2 separate regions of the Homo sapiens genome follow, and region 2 is linked to region 1. The links are contacts of gene promoters, found by promoter capture Hi-C in human tissues and cell types (Jung and others, 2019). All regions are on one chromosome and are shown on one strand. Each heading gives the region's core, a stretch centred on a gene start or on the middle of the fragment in contact. The rest is flanking DNA. Distances are from core to core; before and after follow the strand shown. Region 1 holds the start of MFNG (MFNG O-fucosylpeptide 3-beta-N-acetylglucosaminyltransferase). Region 2 holds the start of C1QTNF6 (C1q and TNF related 6).

Region 1 (6,414 bases), core at 2,603-5,102:
CTCTAGCTCCCAGCTCAGGCATCACCTTCCCCAGGAAGCCTTCCCTGACACCCCTCCAGCTACTTTAGAGGCCCCTGCTATGTGTTCCTCAGCCCTCTGTTTCTCCTGTCACTAACAGCAGTTAGCAAAACTCCCTGGTTACAGAAATTTCTCTCCCCGTCTCTTCCACCAGACGATGGCATCCTGGAGACCACAGGCTGGGTCCAATTTGTCTCCTTGCTCCGGCACCTGGCTCTCCTCAGGAAGGCCTGTGCAGCATCCACCCTCTGAGCCTCTCTCCCTGGGGTCTGTCTCCCACCGTCAGATTTAGCGAATGCTGGAGGTCTCTGGATTTCCGCAGGGGGAAATGGTGGTGGTCCAAGCCTAGACCCTGGTCCGCTTCTCCATGAAGCCCACTCCGTCAGTGACGCCATGCAGCCTCTCAGCTTTAAACACCATCAGGGAGCTGGAGACTCGTGGACACCACCAGCCCTAGCCTCTCCCTGAGCTCCAAACTGTCAAATCCCCTGAAACCATGACGTCTCCTGGGGGCTTAACACATCAAGACTGAGCCCCCGTTCTCCCCAAGACCTGCTCCTCCCTCTCACTGGTTGGGACCCAAAACCTCAGACTCCCCGCTCCTCCTCTCTTCCTCTCACACCTCTTCCCGAGCCTGTCATCAATTCTGCTCACCAGCCTCCAAATCGTCTGGGACGCTGCTCTTCCCTCCGGCCCACCCGGCCACCTAGTCCCCGCCACTGTCGTCACCTGCTGCCTGCTTTGCTGCAGGCCCTCCTCCCTGGCCTCCCTGCTCCCTGCCTCCACCCCAAGTCGGTTTTCAACACAGCCTCAAGGGATCCTATCAAAGAAACCAGGCCTTTCCTACCCTGCCCTCGACAAACTTTTGCCACCAAACAGCCACCCGATAGTGAAACACTCTCAAGCTTGGAGCATGGGCCAAATGGGCTGAGGACTGTTTCCCGGTGAAGATCTAGTAAGCCTGAATAAAGCAGGAGAATAGGCACTTTGGGAGGCCAAGGCAGGTGGATCATTTGAGGCCAGGAGTTCAAGACCAGCCTGGCCAACATGGCAAAACCCCATCTCTACTAAAAATAGAAAAATTAGCCGGGCGTGGTGCGCATGCCTGTAGTCCAAGCTACTCAGGAAGCTGAGGATCACTTGAAACCAGGAGGCGGAGGTTGCAGTGAGCCAGGATCGTGCCACTGCACTCCAGCCTGGAAAACAGAGTGAGACTCTGTCTCAAAATAAACAAAACAAAACACCAGCAGCCATGAACAGAGTGAGGGAGAGAGCCGGGAAGGGGAGTCCAGGTCCAGAGGGGGCGGGGGCACAGGAGAGGGCAGTGAGGCTGGCGCTTTCAGTCCCTGGGAATCCTAAGGTTGGCACAGAGCGATGGGCAGAGTTTCTTTGGAGCCAAGGGCTGCATTTGACTTGTTTAAGGAGGGGACCTGACAATGGTGAAAACTTCACAGGCAGCCGCGGGAAACAAAGGGACACGCAGCCTGCTGGGGCAGGGGAGGGGTGGCCGGGGACCATCTGCTGCAGAGGAGGGGAGTGGTGGGGCTGCTGCCACCTCTCCCCCCAACAAGGGGACCATAGGGAGGAGAAAGGCTCGCCTTGAGCACAAAACCCGCCTCCCCCAGCCCACCCCCTCAGCCCAGGACAAAGGCCGGCACACGAGTCCCGGCCCCTGCCGCAAGGCCCACCTGCCACCCGACCGCCCTTAACCAGCCAGGCGGGCGCCCAGCGCTGCAGTTAACCAGCTCAGGCCCGGTCCAGACACTCCTGCCCCGTGCAGATGGGGAAACTGCGGGCCGAAAGGGGAGGGCCTTGGCTGAGGTCACAGAGAGAAGTGAGCCAAAGGGTGAGAGACGTGGGGTAGCGACTCCTGTAGCCCAGTGACCCAGTCCTCACAGGGTTCCCAAGTCTCAGCAGGGGAGAAAAGCACCCAACCAGGAGCAAGGTTCTAGGTCCCACTGGGCTCTGTCCCCTCAGGCCTTCTGCGTGACACCACGCCAGCCAGCACTTCCTCTCTCTGGCCTCAGTTTCCTCATCCGGGGCAAGGGCACCACCGCGGTGATGGAGATAAGACAGGAAAGGGCCGTGGGCCACGTGAGGCCACGCTCCCGGGTACACAGACGCATAAACAGGAAGGCCTGCGGGAGGGCCCGCCTTGGCTGCTTCCGCAGGAAGAACCAGGATCTCCCCAAGATGAGAAGCCGTGTGGGGCCCAGAGAAGAGCTGAGGTGCTGGGGGCCAGCTGGGGAAGAGTTAATCCCAAGTACGAGGGCAGAAATCAGGGCAGGGTGCCCCTCCCCAGGAGGGCCTGGCCTCTGCCAGCCATCCTCTCCCCCTCCTTTTGGTCTTCCAGGAGGTCTCGACTATCTCCAAAGACTCAGTCACTTCCTCCCACTGAGCCAGCCGCCAAAGAGGGGACCGATGTGTGTGTGTGTGTGTGTGTGTGTGTACCCATTCTCCACCTCCCCCATCAACGGTCCCTAACACCGACATCACTAACTTTGCTTAAGGAAGATACTGGATGCGAGGAGGGAAAGGGCTGGAAGGGACTTGGCTCGCCGGAGCCGCACAGCCATGTGACAGACATGCCTCTTGTCACACACATCTAGCACACTCCAGCTCCGTGCGTGTGAGCACACACACACACACACACACAATCCCACGTGCCAGGCAGGCCTCCCCAACCTCCGGCCCACCACTGCCTCAGCCGCCACCCTCGTGGCATGCGCTCTCCTTCCCTCCCTCGGAAGCAGTCCGCAGGAAGCCAACACAGGAGGCCAGACATGGCGGCCTCGGCACACCCGGGGCAGCAGAGACACAGCGGCAGGGGCTATCGGGAAGGCCGAAGGGATGCCTCCCCCAAGAACAGACCCCACCATTCTCCTCCCGTCCTCCACCCTCAGAGCCCGGGCAGGACAGCACCTAGGGCCTGGGTGGGACAGCCTGGCCTGGGCACGGGTCTGGGTCAGGACCTCTTGGAGGCCTCCACCCCAGCTGCCCAACACCCACCATTACCCCTGATGCCAGGCTGGGCCTGGGTGGCTAGGAGCGAAGCCCCCACGGGAGCGGCTAGGAATAGAAGAACCCCCAGGAGGGACCCGGGAGCCTGGAGCAGGGGCCCAGCCTGGCCCCCAAAAGTGGTGGAGCGGTAGGACCTGGGTGCACCTGGAGTCAGGACCAGTACAGGGCACGGGCAGGGCCGCAGGCAGCCCCTAAAGCCCGGAAGAAGGAGAGAGGAAGAGGATCCCTGATTAGGCAGGTATTGAGCAGCTTCTCCCATGAGGCAGTCAGGGACCCCAGCCCAGTAGAAAGGCCTCTGAGAACCCCTTAGGCCAGGGGCCACCCCCAGGGCCCAATGTCACCCACTTGTCACCTGTTCCCTGGTCCTGGAAACCCACGTGTCAAGCAGCAGCTCCAGGCGCAAGCGGTGGAAAGCCCGGGTCGTCTTCACTGCAATGAAGACATCGTGTAGCTGTAGCTTAGGGGGCCCCGGGTTCGGCTGGCTCAGCTCGGGGGTCCCTTGTACCCGCTGCGGGGACAGGTTCAAGTGGTACCGCAGACACAGGAGCCCCATGCACAGGAGGGTGAGGAGGGCTCCAGCCAGGCCCCGCGGGAGCCGGCACTGCATTGGTTGGCCCTGGGACCCCAGACAGCTCAGCCCCCAAATCCCAACCAGACAGGGAGGGGAAGCTGGTCAGGCAGGGGCTCCAGCAGAGGCAAAAGTCTGGCAGGCATCAGGGGCTGGCAAGGAGGGAAGAGGTAGGAGCTGAGGCTCTGGACCCAGAGGCTGAGCCATGGCAGCACGATCTCGACCGCCGCCAGTCCTCCACCTGCTCCCGCTGTCCGGCCTGCCGCAGCCTCCGGGACCGCCTGGCCCCGCCCCGCTTAGCCCGAGGGGCGGGGCCAGACGAAGGGAACCCCAGACAGAGGCGGCTGAAAGGAGGCACCAGCAGAAAGGGCAGCCCCGGCTCTGCCAGCTGCTGCGGTGGGAGGAAGTCACAACAAACCCTCCGTGCCCGGTGGAAGGGAGTGTCCTCCAGCACCGTCCACTCCCCCAGAGAGCTGTCAGCTCGGCCCATTCAACACCCATTACTTTGGTGTCCTGCTTCACCCAGCCCCCAGCTTTTGCTCACAGGTTTCCTCCGGGATGCTCTCCCATATTCCACCAGCCTCACCCACATTCCCTCCACTAGGCTGAGTTCTATCTGGACTTCAAAGCTTAAGGGTTCCCTCCTCCAGGAAGCCTTCCGTGATAACCTCTTAACCTCTGGGGCTCCCACAGTTGTTCGCTCAGTTCCTGAGGTCTTCACAACAGCACTGGGACTGTCGTTCCCAGTTTATAGCTGAAGACATAAGGCACAAAGGCACAGAATGAGCAAAAACGATCCAGCAACTCAGCCGCAGAGCTGGCAGAACCCAGGTCTCTGTTCCTCATCTAGTTCACAGGAGGTCCCCTGAGGGCACCTGTCCAGCTGTGCCCCAGCCCATACCCGACCTCACTCCGCAGTCTCTGGAGCTGCCTCTCTCCCAGCACCTGACCAGTGGACAGACAGAGGGCCTTCTCCAGCCACCACCTCCATCTTGTTTCGCACAAGCTCACTCACACCTCCTCCCTCCTCCACTCAGAGCCTGCACTGGCTCCCATTTTCTTCAGAACAAAAGCCAAAACGCACACAGCAGCCCACAAGGCCCTGCGTGAGCTGGCTCCCAAGTTACTCCCACCCCATCTCCTGCTACTCACCCTGCTCCACTCCAGAACCTGGGACCCTCGCTGGCCCAGGCACCTGGCCGCCACAGGACCTTGGCACTTGCTGTTCCCACCTGGGCCCCTCCCTAGAGACCTGCACGTCTCACTCCCCCACTCCCTTCTGGTCTTTACACAAAGGTCACCGTCTCTGTGAGGCCTTCCCTGACCACGTTATTAACATTGCAACCCCTCGCCGCCTCCTTCCCAGCCCCCCAGGCCTGTCCCTCTCAAGCCACTTCACTGTTTTCTTCATCACACTTTTCATCTTCCAACATTCTGTATGTTTAACTAAGTTTCTGTCCTCCTCATGAGAATATCAGGGCAGGATTTATTTTTTGATCACTGAGTCCCTAATCCCCAGTGCCTAGAACAGTGACCGGCAGACAAGAACTCAATCAATGTTAATTCAACACAACAAAGTACCAGGTGGCTGGCAAAGGGAAGTGGCCCTGCCGGGCTCAACCCTGCATGAGGACAGCTGGGGGAGAGGAAGGGAAAACCAACCCTTTGAATGACCTTCTCATGGGCCAGCCCCCAGCCAGGCCCCTTCACAGGCCATATTCTCAGAATGGTGATGATGCCAGCCTTGGTGATGATCCCAGACTCTGTACCCCACAGACCAGGTTTAAATCCTGACTGGGGGCTGGGCGCCATGGCTCACGCCTGTACTCCCAGCACTTTGGGAGGCCAAGGCAGGCAGATCACTTGAGGTCAGGAGTTCAAGACCAGCCTGGCCAACATGGTGAAACCCCGTCTCTACCAAAAATACAAAAATTAGCTAGGCATTGTGGCAGGCACCTGTAATCCCAGCTACTAGGGAGGCTGAGGCAGGAGAATCACTTGAACCCGGGAGGCAGAGGTTGCAGTGAGCCGAGATGGCGCCATTGCACTCCAGCCTAGGCAACAAGAGTGAAACTCCATCTCAAAAAAAAAAATTCCCAACTGGGCCACTCACTGGCTGTATGACTCTAGGAAAGTTACCTTCATCATTTCTAAAATGGGGACAAAAATATGACTTGGTGACGATTACAGGATGAGTGGGCTTCTCCACCCCACAGAAAGGATGCTTGACACGGGGAACAGGCAAAGGCAGCCAAGTCACAGGCCCCTGCCTTTCCCCAGGCCAAGCACTGGGCCAGGCTCACTGTGGGGCAGGGGGAGGTTCATGTACCCAAATGCACACAGCCCAGTTTCCATGCCCAGGAAGCCACAGACATCGAGAGACAGCCACACAGACACCCTCGTCCCACCACAAGGCAGAATATGGCATGGGCCAGGAGAAGTCCCAAGGGCTGGGAGGACCTGGTGGTGGGTTTCATGGAGATACGTAATATCTCAGCCAGGCTTCAAAGATCAGGAAGATTCAGGCAGGGAGAGCAGCCCAGGCAGGGGCCACATGAGCAGAGGAGCACAGCTAAGGGTAAACTGAAAGGCCACTGCCACTGCCCGCGGTGGGGAGGATGTGGCTGGGGGGATGGGAGAGTCAACACCTGGGAAGGCCTGGAGTAGAAAGCGGCATTGCCGCTGATTCCCATGCAGGGAGGCTGCCCTTCCCCCAGGGCACCGCCTTTGCCACTCAGGGTCCAGCTCCCCAGCCCCTACCCCAGTGGTGACAGACTGGCAGGCCTCCAAGTCCAATCTGCACCTTG
Region 2 (6,448 bases), core at 841-3,340, 300 kb before region 1:
CAGGCAGGCCGTGCAGAGCTGAGTTTGTGTGTGCCCGGGTAGGGGCGGGCACAAACCGGGAGCAGTGGAGCGCAGCCCTCAGCCAGAGGCAGGAGGAAATGTGGAGGGGAGAGCCTGGAGAGGCTGTCCCAGTCAGAGGGAGAGAGCAGGGCCCGAGATGCTTCCAGGAAGCAAGGAGGGAGGAGAGGAATTCCAGGCTCTGACCCCAGCCCCCAAGCTTGAGGAGCCTCTGGTCACTCACCCTGTGTCCTGTGGCCTCCCCAGGCGACTCACGGACCCTGAGCCACTGCATGGCCTCTGGCTCCTTGGCCCATGTCTGCAATACTAACTTGTTGCTGGCCCAGACCCCCAGGCCCAGCAGAGGAGGGAGAGAGGAGGGGATGGAGGGAGAGAGGGCGGAGGGAGGGCGGAGGGAGAGGGCAGAGCCGCTTCCCACTTCCCCTCCTCCCTGCTCCCTCCCTTTCAGCCTCTGGGTTCTGCGGAGATAAAGGGAGGCAGGGATTTCCTTTGCTTAACTCTTTGGTGATCCAGTGGGGTCTTGCTTGATTCAAAGGCCTAGAAAGTCAGAGCAGGCAGGAGTCTGAGGCCCCCTGATGATTGGGAAATGGACACAGGCATGGGGCACAGGAGCCCCTAGGTTGCTCAGGAAGGGGGAGGCAGCCCTGAGTCCACCCTGAGCTAAAGTGCTTAACTGCTCTGAGTCACAGAGGCAGGGTGGGTAGCAGAGAAGGTGCAGGTGTTGGCCCTCCAGGCACAGGCTAGAATCCTGGCCCTGCTACCACAGTCGCGTCGCCTCTCAGAGCCTAGGTGTTCCAGAACTGCAGTCCTCAGCCCCCTTTGTGCCAGGCACATGGGAGGGCTTAACCCATGTTTGTTGGGTGAATGACCAGGCTGACCTCCTCAGGTATCATGCAAGTGTTACCAGAGAGGGGTACTGATCAGACCCCAAGAGAGAATTCTTGGATCTTGCACCAGAAAGAATTTGGGGTAAGTCCACAGAGCAAAGTGAAAGCAAGTTTATTAGAGAAGCAAAGAAACAAAAGAATGGCTACTCCATAGGCAGAGCACCCCCAAGCACTGCTAGTTGGCTATTTTTATAGTTATTTCTTGATCCTATGCTAAACAGGGGTGGATTATTCATGAGTTTTCCAGGAAAGGGGTGGGAATTTCCTGAAACTGAGGCTTCCTCCCCCTTTTAGACAATATAGGGTAATTTCCGGACATTGCCATGGTATTTGTAGGCTGTCTTGGTGCTGGTAGAAGTGTGTTTTAGCAAGCTAACACATTTTAATTAACATACAATGAGCAATAAGGATGACCAGATGTCACTTTCATTGCAATCTTAGATTTGGCAGGTTTTGGCTGGTTTGTTTACCGCATACTGTTTCTCAGCAGGGTCTTGATGACCTGTATCTTGTGATACCAGTCCTGCCAACTTCCTATCCCTTCCTGTGACTACAAATGCCTGACCTCCTGGGAATGCAGCCTGGCAGGTCTTAGCCTCATTTTACCCAGCCCCTATTCAAGATGGAGTTGCCCTATTTTGAACACCTCTGACATATTTCCCTACTCTCTTTTACGAGGGAACGTTTAATCTTAAGGGTTGTAGAGGCATGAAGATCCATCTTCTGTAACTTCTTCAGGCTGAATAGAGGCGATGATATTCCTGCCTAACTATTAGAGTCTCTTGGGTTTGGTGCAGAGAGGAACTGAGTAAGAAAATGTTGGTGTGTTCAGAGTCATTTGTAACTCTGAGTCCTAACAAAAGGTGATATCTGGAAGATTAATGTGTTCAATTTAAGGAAGCACTGAGTAAGCTTATCTTGCATTCTTACACAAAGAGTATAGCAGCAATATATTCTACAACAGCAAAGTAAAATAAGTAAAATTATCCCAAGTAATCCAAATAAGAAGGCTTTCCATGAACTGGGCAAGAATGCCTGTGACTTATCGGGTAAAATGAGGCTGAGACCTACTGGGCTGCATTCCCAGGAGGTTAGGCATTCTTAGTCACAGGAATTGCTAGATGAGCTGATACGGAGTTGCTAGACGATTCCAATACATGCTCAGAATTAGATACTGATCCAGATTTTTATGTTATCCATCCCTCTTGTTTCTGACGAGAAGCAGTCAAGAGATGACTGTTTGGTTCACAGAAAGAAGCAAGGTCAGTCTAAATTGCAGACAAAAAACTCAAAAACAATGGATGAGACTAGAATCTATGACAGGTGTACCATATTTTTTGAAACACCGTTTTTCTCTCTCCAGTCTCCCATTTTTTATTAAAAACAAATCATGGTAGGACCAATTTATTTGCAAAATAAGCTTTAGTCTTATTATACTTGGCTTCATTATTTGCATAAAGTGCAGCAAGTATAATTATTTGCCATACAGGCTCCTTTTAAAATTGGCTTTGTTTCATAAGGTATCTTAGATTAGATGTTTTAAAGCTTTGAGCCCAGCCATGGATTTACCTATGCCTGCAAGAACCTGTATGAGTTAGATAAATTCCTCTCCTCTTGAGGTCCCGAGATAACTCGGGGCTCCCAGGCCTGTCAGAAAGTTACATTCTTTACTTACCACAGGTCAGGAACCCTATACAGGGACTTCATACACAAGGTACAAGACCAGTTTTTCCAAGAGGCTTTTATTGGCTCTATTAGTCAACTTTAATTCCTTAAAGAAGTCTGTTTATATTTGAAAGCATGCCACTCGAGTCAAACCCTTGTTAAATAACCAGTTTCTCCAATTGTGTCCTGTTACAAAAAAAAAAAAAGAAGAAAGAAGGAAAAACAGATTCTTACTGCACTTATGCAAATAACTATATTGCCGTAAGTTAAGAACACTCACAAATAGTTTCCAAATTCTGCAGAAATCAGGTAAAGAGAAAAAAACATATTCCAAATTTTGTTTTTGGACAAAACTTTGTTTTATAATCCTTACCGGAGCGTACTTTACTCAATTGTTAAAAGCTGTAAATAGCTCAAGAAGGGGGGGTTTCTTGACTCTGAAAAACAAAACAGAAAGATCAACAACATTTTAAGCAAAAAGTCATAAAAGATTATTTCAGTCTTTTATTAGTTCAGTCTATGCAATTAATTCCTGTTTTGCTTGATATATATGTGTTAGTTTTCCAAGAGTCTTGGATGATGTTTTCTTTTTCTCTGCATTTAAGAGTACTCATCAGAGTCCTATAGCTGATTATAAACCACCTTTTGAAGAGAATAAAAGCAAGACAACAATTGTCTATGGATGACAGAAAGACTTAGAGCAGTCATGGTTAAAGAATTAATATCATTGACTAGGAAATGTGGATACCTCTGTGGCATATAATAAATTAACATCATAACAATTATAATTATTATTGATAATGTCCATTAGTATTGATAATGTTCATATCAGAATTATAGGAGTTTCCCATAATTTTGGAACACATACCAATAACATATTTATATAAACACAGCCCAAAGAAAGCCAAACACAATTTCATATTTGACAATGCTTCCTGTATTATTTTAATGTACCAAATAAGCCAAATATGTCATTTTTGGACTTTAGGGGACCTAATATCTAAAGGACTAATCAGGTTAGAAAAAGGCATAACTTAGAATTTGATTTTGGAAAGTTTGTCAAATATCAAAAATTTAAAACATTTGATACTACAAAATAGCATCCCAGGTCACCATAAGTCATTTATTTGGCCAAAATGATAACTCAAAGATGTTTTTAAGGGCAAAAACCTTTACTCACCGATAAAGGGAAGACTTAGCTTTCCAAAAAAAACTGTCTCTTTTCGTTCCTTTCTTTTTTCTATAGCTTATTCAAAAGGCAAACAAAAATCTTTAATTATTTTTCAATATTACATGAAAAACTTGTTCAAGAGAGAAAGCCAAATTTTACCTTTGCATTTGTGTACTATTAATGTCAAACCCAATTCATAATAAAGCCTTATAGACAACTCTATCCAATTTTAATGTTTGACCATGAGGTAAGAGTCTCATAAACCTTTTATAGCTCTTTACAATTTTCTTGTTAAAGAGTATACCAGTGCTCTAAGAAAACCTTGTTATACTTTTATTCCATATTTAATTTATGGAAAAACTGAATAATATCCCTTTAATTTAAGCCAATAAGTTCACACAGAATTTCTTTTACAAGATTAATCTTTCACAAACCTTCCATAACTTGCTCAAACCTTCAGCTTTATCCTACCTAACTTGAAACAATCCTTTAACCCTCTAAAGTAGGGGGAAAGTCCACATTCCCATGCTTTCTTATAATCTTCTTACCAAAAGCATATTCAATTTTCCTTACACACCTTGCATATAAAACTGTTTCTCTAGTAGTCTCAATTACATATAACATATTACGATGTTAACTCTTAGCAACTTTTATTTTTTGGTGAAAAACCTGGTAAGTAAGCAGTTTTACTTATATTCCAGGTGTGGAGCCTAGGACAGCCTTATCTGCAGAAGTGCAGATAAGGTCTGACTCTTTCCAGCATAGCTGGGGGCATGGCTAACTCGACAAGTCCCCAGGCCTTATCTAGAATCTAATGGCCCCAAAGCAGGTAAGCTGGGCAATTTTCAAAAGTCAATGATGCAGTTTATGACCTTGAGGCATTTAGCAAACCTAAAATCTGACCTGCCTAATTTAGACCAAATGTCTAAAGTTTGAAGATATTTTAATGTTACTGATAATCTTTAAAACTGTCTCTATTTCCCAAAGATTATTAAAGTCATGTGAACCAAAAGGCATTAATGTTTCTATTTTTCTGACAAAATATTTGATTTAAGTACTTATTATTTTTAAGCCAATTAATCAGAGCTCTTTCATATATCAACATCACACACACAACATATATAAATACACAGACAGAAGATCCAGTAGTTGTAAGATTTTTCATTTGCCAATTTTTAAGTTTCTTAATTGGATTACTGACTTCAGGGTGGAGCCCTTCAAGAAACAGGGCCAGGAAAGCCTGCAGTTTCTAAGGCCTAATAAGCAGGCACAGCTGGAAGGCAAAACAGAACCCCAAAATTAAGGGTTTCATTTTTATATTGGATCCTGGATCCCAAAGAGAGGGAATCAGCCCATCCCCCATGGCAGTCTTATCTTTCAATGGAGGGTGGGGACACTTCCATACTTTCTAGGTGGCCAAGAGCATGCTTTTCTGATCCAAAGGTGCGAAGAGCCAAGTATCCCCACAAAACTGCCATTAGCCATCCCTAAAAGTGTATTCCCCACCTAGTTATTACATAGCAAGGCTAAAAGCTCTCTTAAAATGCAAAGTAATTTCTGATATCCCCAAAAGTCAAAACTGTCAGATAACACAATACAAAACAGAGCAGAGCCTTAGATTTTGAGAGTGGTCTATCTGCTTTCAATTCCTGGGGGTGTCCATGAGGAGAACAGAGGTTTCTCCCAAAACAGGGTCTGTAGCACCTCCTTTTTTCCTGAGAAGTCCCAGGCTATTAAAATTTATCTTAGGTCCTCTCAGGTGGGGCATCAAGAGTGGCAAGAAGACAAAATGGGGAAAAAAATTAAGTCGACTGAAAAGAAAAAATTTTTCAGAAAAATAAGAGCCAAGAAGAGAAAAAAAAGCATAAAGGCCTTTTAAATATATGTATAGCTTGGATATCCATTTTTAATTAAGCTGACTTTTAACCAAATCTTGTTACCAGACTCTAGCCGGGACAAACAGCCAATATTTCTGGCTTTTGAACTTCACTAACAGTAACCTCCCAGGTGAAACCGGTAAGCCTTAACTAAGGTTAGCACTTAACCCAGGTATACAAGGTATTTTCAAAGAGGTGATAAGCAGTTTTTACGAGATCTAGAATCGCCAAGGGTAGTGCAGAGAAAGGAAAATTCAAACGAGAAGTCAGAAGCTGTTTATGGAGAAGAAAATGAATAAATGGCAAAGGTCACATAGATATTAAACCAGAAAGGACTCATTCCCTAAGGTGGGAATTGAACCTGGGTCCCCAGTGTGAAGAGACAAAGCCTTAGCTACTGAGCCACGGCACTAGACAGTTTCTGTTTTCCTTCCTGGAAGGAGCCCAGAGAAGCCAATTTCAAGCGTGCAAAGGCTTTTAACTGCTCAGGACAATTTTTAGGGCTATCACATGAAGCCCCAGCTTCCTGTCGTCTGGATGGTGGAGACTAAGAGAAAGTACTCCCACACGGTCACAAGGTTAAACTTGCAAGGACGTAAAAAAAAAGACAAGACAGAAACCTCATCTAGTTTTTGTTTCAGGGACCTGCCGCCAAGTTTGTAACTGACGAGTTTGCTGGGCCAACTTGAATAATGGGCTTATATGGGTCCTAGGCCCACATTCTATCCTATAGTACCTCTTTTTATGACAGACTGACACAGAAAGAAAAATTCATAGCACTAAGTACACCAGATTTTCTAAAGCTTAAGACTAGCCCCCATGAATTCTTT

The links. The method cuts DNA at HindIII sites, captures the fragments that hold promoters and counts their contacts. A contact is called where the count stands out against the background at its distance.
Region 2: a contact is called between a fragment that was not itself captured here and the fragment with the promoter of MFNG in region 1, in 8 of the 25 tissues and cell types used here (H1 embryonic stem cells, IMR-90 fibroblasts, dorsolateral prefrontal cortex and 5 more).

What each region holds. Positions count from the first base shown.
Region 1 is chr22:37,482,532-37,488,945 of GRCh38, forward strand. It overlaps MFNG (MFNG O-fucosylpeptide 3-beta-N-acetylglucosaminyltransferase), which reads right to left and starts at 3,853. Exons shown (of 8, transcript NM_002405.4): 1 at 3,392-3,853. The coding sequence starts at 3,646. RefSeq lists enhancers at 2,738-2,797, 3,198-3,247, 3,724-4,233, 4,234-4,745, 4,746-5,255 and 2 more and a silencer at 3,818-3,947. The HindIII fragment of the contact is 15,221 bases long and covers 1-6,414 here.
Region 2 is chr22:37,187,922-37,194,369 of GRCh38, forward strand. It overlaps C1QTNF6 (C1q and TNF related 6), which reads right to left and starts at 326. Exons shown (of 3, transcript NM_031910.4): 1 at 242-326. The coding sequence starts at 292. RefSeq lists enhancers at 1-65, 66-699, 700-1,335, 1,336-1,969. The HindIII fragment of the contact is 4,689 bases long and covers 1-4,435 here.